Regions from separate parts of the Homo sapiens genome. Here regions 2 and 3 are each linked to region 1. Evidence: promoter capture Hi-C in human tissues and cell types (Jung and others, 2019). All regions are on one chromosome and are shown on one strand. Each heading gives the region's core, a stretch centred on a gene start or on the middle of the fragment in contact. The rest is flanking DNA. Distances are from core to core; before and after follow the strand shown. Region 1 holds the start of HBP1 (HMG-box transcription factor 1). Region 2 overlaps SLC26A4 (solute carrier family 26 member 4). Region 3 has its middle 13 kb from the start of DLD.

Evidence for each region. Contacts are between HindIII fragments. The study calls those that stand out against the background at their distance.
Region 2: a contact is called between a fragment that was not itself captured here and the fragment with the promoter of HBP1 in region 1, in 1 of the 25 tissues and cell types used here (dorsolateral prefrontal cortex).
Region 3: a contact is called between a fragment that was not itself captured here and the fragment with the promoter of HBP1 in region 1, in 1 of the 25 tissues and cell types used here (dorsolateral prefrontal cortex).

The regions. Positions count from the first base shown.
Region 1 is chr7:107,166,537-107,171,147 of GRCh38, forward strand. It overlaps HBP1 (HMG-box transcription factor 1), which reads left to right and starts at 2,467. Exons shown (of 11, transcript NM_012257.4): 1 at 2,467-2,649. RefSeq lists silencers at 1,995-2,568, 2,587-2,686, 2,947-3,166 and an enhancer at 2,117-2,276. The HindIII fragment of the contact is 2,484 bases long and covers 1,579-4,062 here.
Region 2 is chr7:107,691,776-107,696,022 of GRCh38, forward strand. SLC26A4 (solute carrier family 26 member 4) reads left to right here. Exons shown (of 21, transcript NM_000441.2): 11 at 2,628-2,705; 12 at 2,846-2,941; 13 at 4,158-4,247. Among named protein-coding and RNA genes, the nearest start is that of SLC26A4-AS1, 32 kb to the left of the region's middle. The HindIII fragment of the contact is 5,968 bases long and covers 14-4,247 here.
Region 3 is chr7:107,875,536-107,880,194 of GRCh38, forward strand. No RefSeq gene overlaps it. Among named protein-coding and RNA genes, the nearest start is that of DLD, 13 kb to the right of the region's middle. The HindIII fragment of the contact is 5,699 bases long and covers 1-4,659 here.

The DNA.
Region 1 (4,611 bases), core at 1,217-3,716:
CTTAAAGGTGTAGCGAATTCTAATACTAGTATTTAATCAGTTGTGACTAAACTATCTAAATTTAACTCATATTAAAGACTTGGATAAAAATGAGAAAAAGTGTGCAAAAAATGTTTTCTATCTTTTTATTCTCAATAATTGGCACAGTGGTCAAAAAATGGAACTAAACGTTTCTGAATGAATGGAAAAGGCTTTATGGAGCTATTAAAGGATAAATTATTATTTGTAACATATTGTACAATATCTGGATCTAAAGTTGAATTTTTTTTCCCCATTTCCGGTGTCCCCCGATAAAAAAAATCACCACTAAGGCATTTGGTAAAAACTTTAAAATAGTTTAACTTTTAAAAACAAGGTTTAGCTGAAAGCAGATCTCACAGTTTGTGTACTGGAGAGGGGTAAAGCAGTATGTCAATCTCTTGCCAGCTCTTTTTTTTTTTTTTTTTTAAGAGAAAAGTTTTTTAGTTTTCTAGGAGGAGTTAGACATAAATATCTCAAAACAATTTTAAATAATTAGGTGAACTTCACAGATTTTTCTTTTTTGTCAAGAAATTACATGTTGGAGTAGAGTTTATATTTTCTATTCTAGTACACGATGACCCTCCATTGTAAAAAAAAAAAAAAAAAAAAAAAGCATACACAAAGTAGCAGAGACATTCATTTCTTTGAGTCACTAATAATTTCTGAAAGATGATAAATTCAAATCCTGTCCTTTTTCCTCAGGGAAAAAATTAAGCATTCTGTTGGCTCTCCTCTGAATTATTTTAATAAAAAATAGAATGCTTTATTACTATTTGTGAACATAGAAAGTAAGTATTTGATTACACGGGAGGACTACTTTATAATTTCACTTCACGGATTCAAATGGGGAATTCTCAAGAATTTTAAACTCGATTTCAACATGTGGGGGCTTATTTTGGATTTCTTGATTTGTTACGCGGCTTTCAGGTATATTTAAAAATCCAAGAAATGCAGGAGGTTTTAAAGAAATAACTAGCTGTGTGATTTCTGGCTCTGTCCAAAGGTTTGCTTTTACAGATTTCTTACTAATGTAGGTTTTCCTCATCTTAATTCTAAGCATATATTTAGTGATCTAAAGTTAGAAAATCTAAAGCACAATTTAAATGATTAAACACTAAAGGTTCAAAGGGGGGAAAAAGCTTAATCATGCCTTTGTAATGTGAATGGTAAAGACACCAATTATTGACTAGATGCAGCCGACTGTGAATGGACAGCCATGTTTAAAGAGAAGTTAACTATAAAGCAGGGAAGCGTCTCTGGTGAGTCAGAGAATTCGTAACTTGAGGAACTCCTAGTGGAAATGAAGTGGAAAGACAGTTTCTTTCATCAATGAGAAAACGTCTAGAAGGAAAAGAGGGTTAATAAAACTCACCAGAGAAACTTACTGATAATGATTCACAAATTAAATCAGTTTACGTCATACATTACACCCTTTGTATTACGTTAACCAACGAGCATACTAATCAGTATGGAAAATGCCGCTTTAACTTGCCTCAATTTCGTAATCGCCCGCCCCCGCCCCCGCTTTGTAAATTCTCTAGACTCCAGCTTCTCGCTTGCTCACAGTCCATCCCCCAGCCTCACTCTTCCTGGCACTTAGGTGGCGGCTCAACAAACTTAGGTGAACTGAACAGAGCTGACAAGGCAATCTCAAGTTGCTGTCCTGGGAGTGGTGAGGCAAGGCACAAGAGAAAGGACTTCTAGTTCTTCCCACTGCCAGTGCAGCCCCCAGCATCACTTTCGACCCCTTCGTGCCTGGGGCCGTGATTTGTGGGTGATCAAGTCCCTCGCTAGCCTGCAGTACTTCCGCTGGTGCAGTCATCTCCTTCCCCTCGCACTAAAACAATACCCTGGCCTCCTGCCAAACTCTTGAGCAGCGAGCAACTCTGGCTGTTTATGGCCCGGATTGGGTGCTGCAAGAGGCTTGGGCCGCTCTAAGTGTTAGCAGAGGCCCGGAGGAAAAGAAGAGGCCCAAGCTTTAAAACACTCCCTTCCTCCGCCCCCTCCCTTTTGTCCCAGACACCAAAACAAACGAGCTGATACACGTGTCCCTATGACTCTTGTTTACTATCAAGACTGCGCTGTGCGAGCGCCTCTGGGATACGTAGTCCAGCTCTTCCCCGGCCAGCAGTCTCCCACAGCCAAGGACCAAGGCTTGAGACTACGAACCCACAATCCATTTCGGGGACAAAGTTTGGCTTGGGTCCCCGGACTCTCGGCAATAGTCCAATCCGAAGCACTTACTCTTGTGATTGACATGCCATCTTCTCCAGTAAACACAACACAAAAGTCAATACATGCCCGCCCCCCGAGACGGACCACGGTACCACCCAATGGGAAAGGGGAAGAACCGAATGGCAGTTCTGCAGTCCAATAAGAGGGCGAAAGAGCTGGGCGGGGCTCAACCCCCAGGGGGTTGAGGGGAGGGGGAAGACGAAGCTTGAAAGACTTGGTAATGGCGACGGGTTTGGTAAGTAGGAAAGTTTCGGTTGAGGAGTAAGAGCTGCCGCGGGAGCAGTAACCCGCGCGGGGGAGGCCGACGTCGGTCGGAGAGGGGGTACGAGAGCTGCTGGTGGTGTTGTCGTGGCCGGAGCGGCCCGCGCCTGGGCTGCCGGCACTTCGCGGCAGGTTTGTTGTCTTTCAGTTAGGGAAGAGGTGGGGGTGGGGAAGGGAGGGGCAGGAGCGCGGGGGATTGGGCAGACTGGAGGGCTCGGGTCCTCGTTCCTTCTTCTCGGAGGGTTGCCCTTGGGGTGGGGGCAGTTAACCGTTCGATTGGTGCCCGCGGCGAGCCCACCGGAGCAGCGTCTCCCGCGAGCTCACCTGGGCTTCGGGGCGGCGGCGCTAGGGGGTCTCGGGCGGGGGCCGGGAGGAGGCAGGGGGAGGGCGAAGTTCCGGGCCAGGTCGCGCGGTGGGTGGCCGGGCCGGGTGTGGAGATGGGGCGGGCCAGGGCGGGGGAAGGGGCCGACGCAGCGCCGGGGCTGCCCAGGAAAGTTTGACTTCAACTCCCCGTTTGTGGGCGGAGGGTCGGAGCTTGGCCAGGGGTGGGGGGCTGGCCGGAGGTGGGGGACCCCAGTGAGGCGCCGCCTCCTTCTGGACTGAGGGGGATTCTGGCTGAGCTGAGGAGCTCGCGGAGCCGCTGGGCCCCGGGGCTCATTGTTACGCAGTTCGAATGAATGGGCTCCCAGGCGCCTGCGCGCTGGGGCTGAGCCGAGGGGAAAAACAAGCCCGGAGTCCGGGCTGCGGTCACATGATGGGGGGAAGGGAGGGGAACGCGATGAATGGCGAAAGAGGGTGGGGGATGGACTTGGCGTGAACCGGGAGGCACCGCTCTGTGTGACCCAAAGAGGAGGCTTGGCAGGCGATTCCAGTCTCCGCCTTTCAACCTATGCTGCCACCGCAGGCCGATTGAAACAAAACAAAACAAACCAGGCGAAGTGGACAGCCAGGTTTTTGTAGCTTTAAATGCTGCGTGCTGTCTAGGGTGTTTCACTCTCCGCTGTGCACTCTACACTCGAGTTCATTCTTAGGGAGTTTTCAGCTACAGTCGTTTTTAGAAGGAGCACTGACAGCGAGGTAATACTCAAGTTTTCTGTTTGTTTTGTTTTTGGCTCATGGTGCCACTGATGCCAGGACGAGAGGAGGCTTAGAAAAGGAGTTATACATACTGGGAAGCGATGGAGTCCTACTAACAGCTCGGATGGAGGCTTTAGCTTTATTAATACTTCCCTCTGAATAGCCGTAAGCACTCCTAATAGTGGTTTTGAAATTAAAGGTACTTTTTGAGAATTAGAATAATTTTAACATTGGAAATACTTTTCTGGTCATTTAACAGTGATCTAAATCTGCAATGTATGTCTTGTACTTTTGGTTTTTTTTTGCTATTTTCCTTTATCTTGCAAATGAGTGTGGTAGAGTCGGTCATCTGTTCAGTTGCCTTGGTTAAACTCAGTTCTTGCAAGGTAGACAGTAGTTGACAAAATTTCAAGGAAATTTGAATTATATTGAGAATTAAATCCACTCCCTAAAGTTTTTGGGTTATGTTATACTTTTGAGGAGCCGTTTAACCACTTTAAAGCAAAATATTGTTTGTGCTTTCTCTACTGATAAATTATAGAATGAAGTTTTGATTTCACTTTCTAGTTTCATCTTAGTTTTGTAAACCTACTTATCTTTTCTGTCTCGAAAACCCTTCCTCTTTCTTAACTTCTCAAACTCCTAACTACATACCCTAGTTAAAAGGGTACCTTCTCCCAGGATTGCCCACCTACATGTCTCCGCTATCCTGTGTGCTTCACAGGGCATACCTCTCAGACGTCAAACATGATACTGTCACTGTAAGAGTTGTTTTCTTCACTATATACATATGTATATGTATAAAATATATAACATATACATGTATATATATAAAATATATAACATACATGTATATATATAAAATATATAACATATACATGTATATATATAAAATATATAACATATACATGTATAAATATATATATATATATATATATATATATTTTTTTTTTTTTTTGAGAGGGAGTCTCGCTCTGTCGCCAGGCTGGAGTGCAGGGGTGCGATCTCGGCTCACTG
Region 2 (4,247 bases), core at 1,748-4,247, 530 kb after region 1:
TATTTTTTTTGCAAATATTTCCAGCTCTGAGGGAGCAGGTAAAATAATACAGCTCATATCCGGAGGCATAGCCAGAGATCTGTGGTCAAGGGGAAGAGGTCAGAGCCAATTTCCAAAGCTGTGCACATTTCAGGCTGCAGCTGTCAGCAGCAGGAACTTCTGCTGCTTTCATTTGAGACGGAGCACTGACAAGCTCTCCAGAGCACATGGTCTTCAGCGGGTGCAGGCAAATCTCAAACTGCTGATGTCCATTCTCCTGATGTTACCTCCAGGCTCAAATGAGGCATGGGCTGGCTGTCCCAGTAAGTATGCCCATGTAAAGTGACCTCCTTGGCACAGGGTTTGGGGGATAATGGTGCTCTGGTAAGCTAATACCCCCTGCCACATACTGGCATGTATTATATTTAGGAATGAAGGATGCCAGGATTTCAGCATTAAAGAATGAAACGAGTAAAGAAATGGCTTCATGTTTAATTATTGAAATGTATACTAAATTCTGGGGTTAAAAGTCTAAGTGCCTGAACTGAAATCCAGGGACTGATGGACAAATAAACTGGCAGGGCTTCTCTTGTGTGGCTTCTCGTGTTTTCTCTTATGTTGGAACTTCAGTTTCAGCATCTACAAAATGGAAATGATAATTGCATCCATTTCACAGGGATATTGTGAGGATTAGGCAAGAAAATGTAAAGCCTTAGCACATACTTGTAAATGCTCATTGTTTCACTCCTTTAGGCAAGAATAGCATCTTAGCATCTATGATACATATATTGTGCCTGGCACATAAGAAGCACCTGGCATATATTTGCTGAATGAATGAATGGAAGAATGAGTATTGGTGGACACGAACTGTTTTTAGCACATCTACAGATTGTAGAAGAATTAAACATTGGAACCTTTTCTTTCCCTCACCCCCATCTGACTTCCACTGACTCACAGAAAAGTAATTCTGATTACAAACCACTCTTTAGCTCTGATTACCCCCTCCCTTAACAGAATAATTTTTTAGTAACTGAATCTGGTTGTAGATATAAAGTCTACAGAGTTTCTCACAAACAAGCCTTATCAAGTAAGTAGAAATAATTGATCACTCACCAATTTTAATATAGTGGCCAAAATGAGCCTTGGCCTCCCATAATTGGAGACTCATTATGACATATAATTGGCAAGTAGGTGGCCACTCTCCTGGCATGAGTTTGGCAGCTGACTGTGGTCCTTGTCCCCAAATCTCCATATCTTTCTCCAGTTCACAGAGCTCCCCATCCACAGTGAGATGCAAGTGGCTCGGTAAATACTGGTTGAGTAATTGCATGCAAGGAAGGAAGGGAGGGATAAGGGAAGGAAAGAAAGAAGAAAATGGAAGGAAGGACAAGGGAGAGGAAGGGAAGGGATATGAAGGAAAGCGAAGAGAAGGGAGGGAAGTAGGATATCAGCTTCTCTGCTTAGTCAGGAGAAGGGAAAGAGCACCAGGGTACTGGGAATCTAGGATGGGGATAGGAAGAGCATAGAAAAGCCAGCCAGACATACAAAGCACGCTTTTTAGTACCTCATACACATCATATTGCCTCAGGCTGACCCAACTATAATCTAAATATAAATGATCAATTTGCCAGGTAGAGCAAGTGCTTTCTAATTTTCTGTTTATATTTGCTGTGTCTGTCTCCCGTAACTCAGACCTTTTGCACTAGACAGTACTTGTGCTCAACAAAATCTTCCCAGTTGTTTCCTCTCTGATTGCTTTGCTTGTAGTTCCCTGTCTCCTTTTCTTCTTTGTTTCAGAGCTTCTAATCTTCATCTTGGCTCTGCCCCAGCTGTCTCAACAGAGAATTCATTGGTCATCTAATCAAACGAGAGAGTAGTCCCCACCCCCTCAGCCTCTCTCCTAACTAGTATGGATCTTAGGAGAGCTATTTTTGCCAGCGAAGGTAAAGTTTCTGAAGCTTCCTTTTACCCCTGCTATTGCCCCGTTACTCCATAGTCACTGTTTCAGGCTGCCTTGGGGCAAAGCTCTGAGCCTGCCTCCGTGGAACTGTCAGAGGAGGCAGGAGACACAATCCCACCTCTCAATGTGCAAATGTGGCATTTCGAATTTGCAATAGGATGAGTAAATTTATTTTCTCTGAGACTTTAATGAGACCATGTGCTACAAGTACGAAGTGTTATCAGAGTTGCTATTATAGCTGCAGCTTCAATAATGCAGAAAAATCAGCTATGTGCCATGAGAATTTATTTCCCAAGAATACGACAATGATCTCTGTTGTTGGGAAAGGGGGGATTGGTCCATGTTTCCTGCCATGGTAAATAACTAGAAGCTTGGCCTGAATGGACGCCGAAACCGCAGGTGTGTACTATCACCAAATAAAATCCCTGTCAAACTGGCTTTAATTTCATAGGATCAGTCCCCATATTTTCTTTAACTTCTCTGCCATAGCATATATAGATGCCATTTTTGTTCAGTTTTGTGGCTTGAGCAAATAACTATCACTTTTCTCGACAGTATTGAGCAGAAGGGGGAGACAGGGAAGTATGAAGTGTGTCTGTGAACAGGCTGTCTCATACACACATCCAGTGAGCTGGAAGACACAAGGGAGAAGGACGAATCCTTTTCATAGGAGGTGTGTGTCTTCCAGGTTGCTGGCATCATCTCTGCTGCGATTGTGATGATCGCCATTCTTGCCCTGGGGAAGCTTCTGGAACCCTTGCAGAAGGTATAACCCTGCTTCTCTGCATACCGATTGCATAATTTCCCTTCACTACTCTGCTACCAGATAAATAACAGGAGATTTAACAATCATCACATGGAAAACCATTCCCTGAATAACACAGCCTTCTCTGTCTCTCTTGGCAGTCGGTCTTGGCAGCTGTTGTAATTGCCAACCTGAAAGGGATGTTTATGCAGCTGTGTGACATTCCTCGTCTGTGGAGACAGAATAAGATTGATGCTGTAAGTCACCTACCACCTATATTTATCTGAAATAAGATTTGGTTCTTATATGCTTCCTGCCATATCACTATATTCCCCCCATCCCCTAAGTCTCACTTGTGCTTTGGGAACTCCAGAGGAGAAATTAGAATTGTGGGGATAAATCAAAGCCATGAAGTCTTCCATGTGAACTGCATTTTGTGAAGATTCTGTATCTCTGGGAAGGTCAATTTCCAGCAAGAATCCCATATGAGGCTCATTCATACACCTTTGGCCTTCTAAACACAAAAAGCAAAAAAATGTTTAAACACCCTAGTTTAGAAGGACAAACAACATACAAAACAATGCAAAAACAAAATACAAAATGTAAAAACCCACGCTGACTTTAACTCTGACTAACATAACCTTTGCAACTATTCTGAGAAACTAAAAATCAGAAGCTAAATCCTTCAGAGTTCCTCTCTAATTTAAACCATAAAAAGAATGAGAAGACTTCCTACATATTGATATGGAAAATTTTCCAAGACAAATCGTTAAGTGAAAAAGAGACCAGAATAGAAATGCTGGGGAAAAGCACAGACACAGGCAGAAATAAAAGCGGATACAAGGAGGGAGGGAAGTTGGGAATGGGTGGAGAAGGGGGAGGGTTGTGAGCAAGAGTTTTCCCCTTTTTAATGATAATTCCCTTATGAACCATACAAATATATTAGCTATTCAAAAATTTAGAAATAAATAAAATGGGACAGTTGGTCTTAATTGAGAAGCCCAGTTTCTACAGCTACTTAAATATAAAATGAATGAAGTCACAATATTTTTAAAAAGCTGTGATTTGGCCAGGCACAGTGGCTCAGGCCTGTAATCCCAGCAATTTGGGAGGCAGGAGGATCACTTGAGCTCAGGAATTTGAGACCAGCCTGCGTAACACAGTGAGACCTTGTCTCTACTACAAATAAAAGATTAAAAATTAGCCGGGTTTGGTGGTATGTACTTGTGGGTAGTCCCAGCTACTTGGGAGGCTGAGGCGGGAGGATCACTTGAATCCAGAAGATGGAGGCTGCAGTGAACTATCATGGTGCCACTGCACTCCAGCCTGGGCAATAGAGTGTGACCCTATCTCAAAAGAAAAAAAAAAATGTAATTTGTTTGTGGATCATTGATCTTATTTTTATAGGTAGTTATCACATGATGGTACCTGATACATTAATATAATTCTTTTCATTTCTATTTTTTTCCCTAGGTTATCTGGGTGTTTACGTGTATAGTGTCCATCATTCTGGGGCTGGATCTCGGTTTACTAGCTGGCCTTATATTTGGACTGTTGACTGTG
Region 3 (4,659 bases), core at 634-3,133, 710 kb after region 1:
TGGCTATAATCTGATCATGGTTTAAACTCAGTGAAGGATTTATGAAGGTTTATTATGCTACTTTGTTTTGTGTATGTTTGAAATTTTCCATAAAATTTAAGCAAACAAACAAAATTGCCAGGCGCAATGGCTCACGCCTGTAATCCCAGTACTTTGGGAGGCCGAGGAGGGCGGATCACCTGAGGTCAGGAGTTCAAGACCAGCCTGGCCATCATAGTGAAATCCCGTCTCTACCAAAAATACAAAAATTAGCCGGGTGCTGTGGTGCGTGCCTGCCTGTAGTCCCAGCTACTTGGGAGGCTGAGGCAGGAAATTGCTTAAACCCAGGAGGCGGAAGTTGCAGTGAGCCGAGATTATATCACTGCACTCCAGCCTGGGTGACAGAGCAAGACTCCATCTCAGAAAAAAAAAAAAAAAAAATTAAAAAAAAAAAGAACAATATGTTTTTATATTCTTCACAGCAGCATGTATAATGCTGGACATACTGTGGGTACTACATGTTGATTTGTTGATTAATTGCTACCATGGGATAGAATTTTGTCATCTTGGGGAGAACAACTTAAAAGATGAACTTAAAAGAATTGACTTCACATGCCTCCAGAAAAAAATTAGATGGGAACACGTTTTAGCTTAACATGCTAAAGGTGATTTTGTCAGAAAAATCATGATGAAGTGTATCACTGTTGGCATAGCAAAAATTGGCAATTCTCTAAGAGATGCAGAAAGGAAGAATTGTAGAGATTATGTCTTTCAGCATCTATCTTCTTGACTTAAGTAAATAAATAAGAAATACCTACTTCGTTTGTGGATAGGAATCAAAGAAATATCCCATCTGTGGCAGATAATAATTATGTTCTTTGTTATAGCATATCAGAGAACCCATCCGTAATAGTATTGGTAGGGATAGCTATATTTGTATGGTAGTTACAGCTCTTGCATTCAAACTTCATCTAATCCCATTACATCTAGTTGATTCTTTTTTTTTTTTTTTTTTTTTTTTTTGAGATGGAGTCTTGCTCTGTCACCCAGGCTGGAGTGCAGTGGTGCAATCTCAGCTCACTGTAACCTCTGCCTCCCGGATTCAAGCAATTCTCCTGTCTCAGCCTCCCGAGTAGCTGGGATTACAGGTGCATACCACCACACCCAGCTAATCTTTGTATTTTTAGTAGAGACGGGGTTTCACTATGTTGGCCTGGCTGGTCTTGAACTCCTGACCTCGTGATCCACCCCCCTCAGCTTCCCAAAGTACTGGAATTACAAGCGTGAGCCACCGTGCCTGGCCACATCTAGTTCATTCTTAAACCCGCCCGTATGTACCTCTTTATACCCTGTCATGTGAAGAGCAAACTCCAGTTCCTCTCTGCCTAATAGATTTTCTAATGCCCTACCACAATTTTCTCCTACATTATTTCATGCTCTTTTAATCCTTGGATATAGCAATAACTTTTCCACTTCAATGTGGATTTATTCACAGATCTTGAGTGTTTGGGTCATTTCACTTCTTGTTTTGTTTCTTAATTCTTTCTTAACTTGAAATATTAAATGAAATGTGTTGAAAGAGATAAGTATTTTCCCTCAAGTACCATTTCCACCTGAAGGGGTTTAAATTCTGTGAGAACAAAGACCATGGAGAGGAAATCCTTCATAAGCTGGCAGAAAGTGGCCTTTAAGAGATACACTCCAGTTCTCCCGTTCCTCTTATCTCAGTCTCAGTTAGAGAGAGAAAGGAAGCGAGAAGGCATCTATGGGTTTCAGAGGCATTTAGATTTTTTTCAATTGATTGAACAGATCAACAGTATAATTGTGTTGGTTCAAGTCCCGTAAAAATGGTTAGAGGCAGAGAGTCATTTTATAAAAAGAGTGAGGGACTTGGGATCAGAAATTCTGAATATGAGTTCTGTCTTAATCACTTGTCAGACTTGTAAGCTTCGACCAGCAACTCAATCATATTAAAGCAGTAGTTTCATGCTTTATTATCAGAAGTAATGATAATAATAATATCGATGTCAGGATTACTACTATGTAGACCAGTACTGGTAATGTCTGTGACAGAATTCTATAAAATGTAAAGTGCAATTAATACTTGCTCTTAGAGCTCATTAAAGACTCATATTTCATGGCAACTACTTTAATCCATTTTATGGAAGATTCACTATAGAATACCTGTAGAGACTCAAGTGACTCAAAATGTACTCTGAAAGTGAATTCTTTTGGGAGGCTGAAGCAGGCAGATAGCTTGAGCCCAGGAGTTTGAGACCAATCCGGGCAACATGGTGAAACCCAGTCTCTACTAAAAATACAAAAAATTAGCTGGGCACATTGGTGCATACCTGTAGTCTCAGCTACCAGCTACTCGAGAGGCTGAGGTGGGAGAATCACGTGGGCCTGGGATGTCAAGGCTGCAGTGAGCTGTGATTACACCACTGTACTTCAGCCTGGGCAATGGGCATGAGACCGGGCTAAAAAAAAAAAGTTAATTCAACAAACCTGCTTGATAAGTGTTCAGTGGGTTATAGCAGTATAATAATTTACCTTTTTAAGGACATACTGTGAACCAGGTGGATTATTTACAAGTTTTCTCTAATTGTCCCAACAGTCTTCGATGAAAGTATTATCTCAATTTCACAGGGGAGGAAATAATTGAGAGGTCAGCAAATTTGTCCAAGGGCACAAAGGAATTGCACAATGAGATTCAAACCCCTAGGCATTACCCTAAAGCCCATACCCTTTTCCCTGTACTACTTGGTAAATTATTATGCCTTTGTCCTTTATTCCTCTTTGCCCAGATGTCTCTAGGCCTCAGGAGTCACATTCTCCCTGACTTTTCATCTCCCTCTATCAAAATCCTACCCACCTTTCAAAATCCAATTTCAGTAATTACGTCTTGCACAAAGACATCCCCCAGGTCCCTGGCCCCTTACTTACCATCTCCCCACCTCCAAATTCCTGCAGCACTTATCTTTCCTACTGACTTTCATTCATTGAACAATTTTTTTTGAGTCCCTATTACATGCAAGGCATTGTTCCAGGCTCCGGGGATGTATCTGAACAAAACAGATGGAAATCTTAGTACTTGTGTAGCTTAGATTCTACTGGCAGGAGAAAATGTTATAAAACAAACACAACAAAGTAATTATATAGAATGTTAGAAGATGATAAATGCTGTGGAAAAAAAAAAGCCAGGTCAAGGAGAATGACAGTGCAGGGCAGAAATGGGTTGTGTTGCGATTTTCATTAGAGTGGTAAGGACAGATTTCACTGAGAAAGTAACTTTTGAATAAGGACTTCAAGGAGGCAAAGGAGTGAGTCATATGTCTACTGCTGGTTTGAGGAGAAAGGTGGAAAGGGGCGTGTGTGAACGGAAATCCAGCCCAGGATGGCATGTTGTCTGATATTTCTTTTCTTTTCTTTTCTTTTTTTTTTTTTTTTGAGACCAAGTCTTGCTCTGTCACCCACACTGGAGTGCAGTGGCATGATCTTGGTTCACTGCAACCTCTGCTTCCTGGGTTCAAGCGATTCTCCTACCTCAGCCTCCTGAGTAGGTGGGATTACAGGTGCATGCCACCATGCCCAGCTAATTTTTGTATTTTTAATAGAGATGGGGTTTCACCATGTTGGTCAGGCTGGTCTTGAACCCCTGACATCGTGATCCACCCGCCTTGGCCTCCCAAAGTGCTGGGATTACAGATGTGAGCCACCATGCCTGGCCGATATTTCTTTACTGCTTGCATAGATGCCTGATATCCTCAACTAAATCATGAGCTTTATAAAATCAGGGAGATGTGCTGATAACTTTTTTGTGTTTCCTTCAGTGTCCTGTGCAATATTTTATATCCAACAAACACTCAACAAACACTTGGTAATTGTTGATTATTGAGTATGGCACATCATGGCCTAATAACTTTGTATTTAGAATCATTTTGAAGCGTTAATGGTAAATCCTTCGGTTCCTACCACAGTATATACATTTCCTTTTTGGAGTTCCCAGCTTTTGCAGATAGCATAATGAGAGAACGTTGCCCTCTTCTGGGCAGAAGGTGCTGGTGCCTTTTGATTCTAAAACTCTGCTCACTTAGATACTGTTAACACTATGACTCATTATTATCTACTCAATCAACCACAATTAATTAGATTAGCATTTTGACACAATTTTGTTGTTGTTTAAGCACCATCTAAGAAAATGAAATTTCTCAGGAAAAAGATGATTAGGAAGTGAATTACAGTTATTCCCTAAACAAAACCCAGAGCTGTGAGTTGTATGGCAATAACTCTGAAATCCATTTGGGCTGATTTTTTCCATAATGAAGGGGAGAATTCAATTCCAGGAAACCTGGGTTACATAATCAGGACAGGGGAATGCCAGGGATGAAGTCTTCCACAATAAGAATATGAGGTAGTAAAAAGGAAGAGTCAGGGACACTATTCTCTGCCAATTAGTACTGTGTCTGGTGATGTAGTATATAACTGAGGAAAGATTGGGGCAGATTAAGTGGACTTCTGGCTACGTGACCTTAGATATGCTATTTAAATTCTCTGGGCTTCTGTTTCCTTGCCTATAAAATAGGCAAATGAGACTTCTAATAATAAAATAGGACTAATAATTCTAATAATAAAATAGGACTTTCTAATAAAAAATAGGAAAATGAGACTTCTAATAAT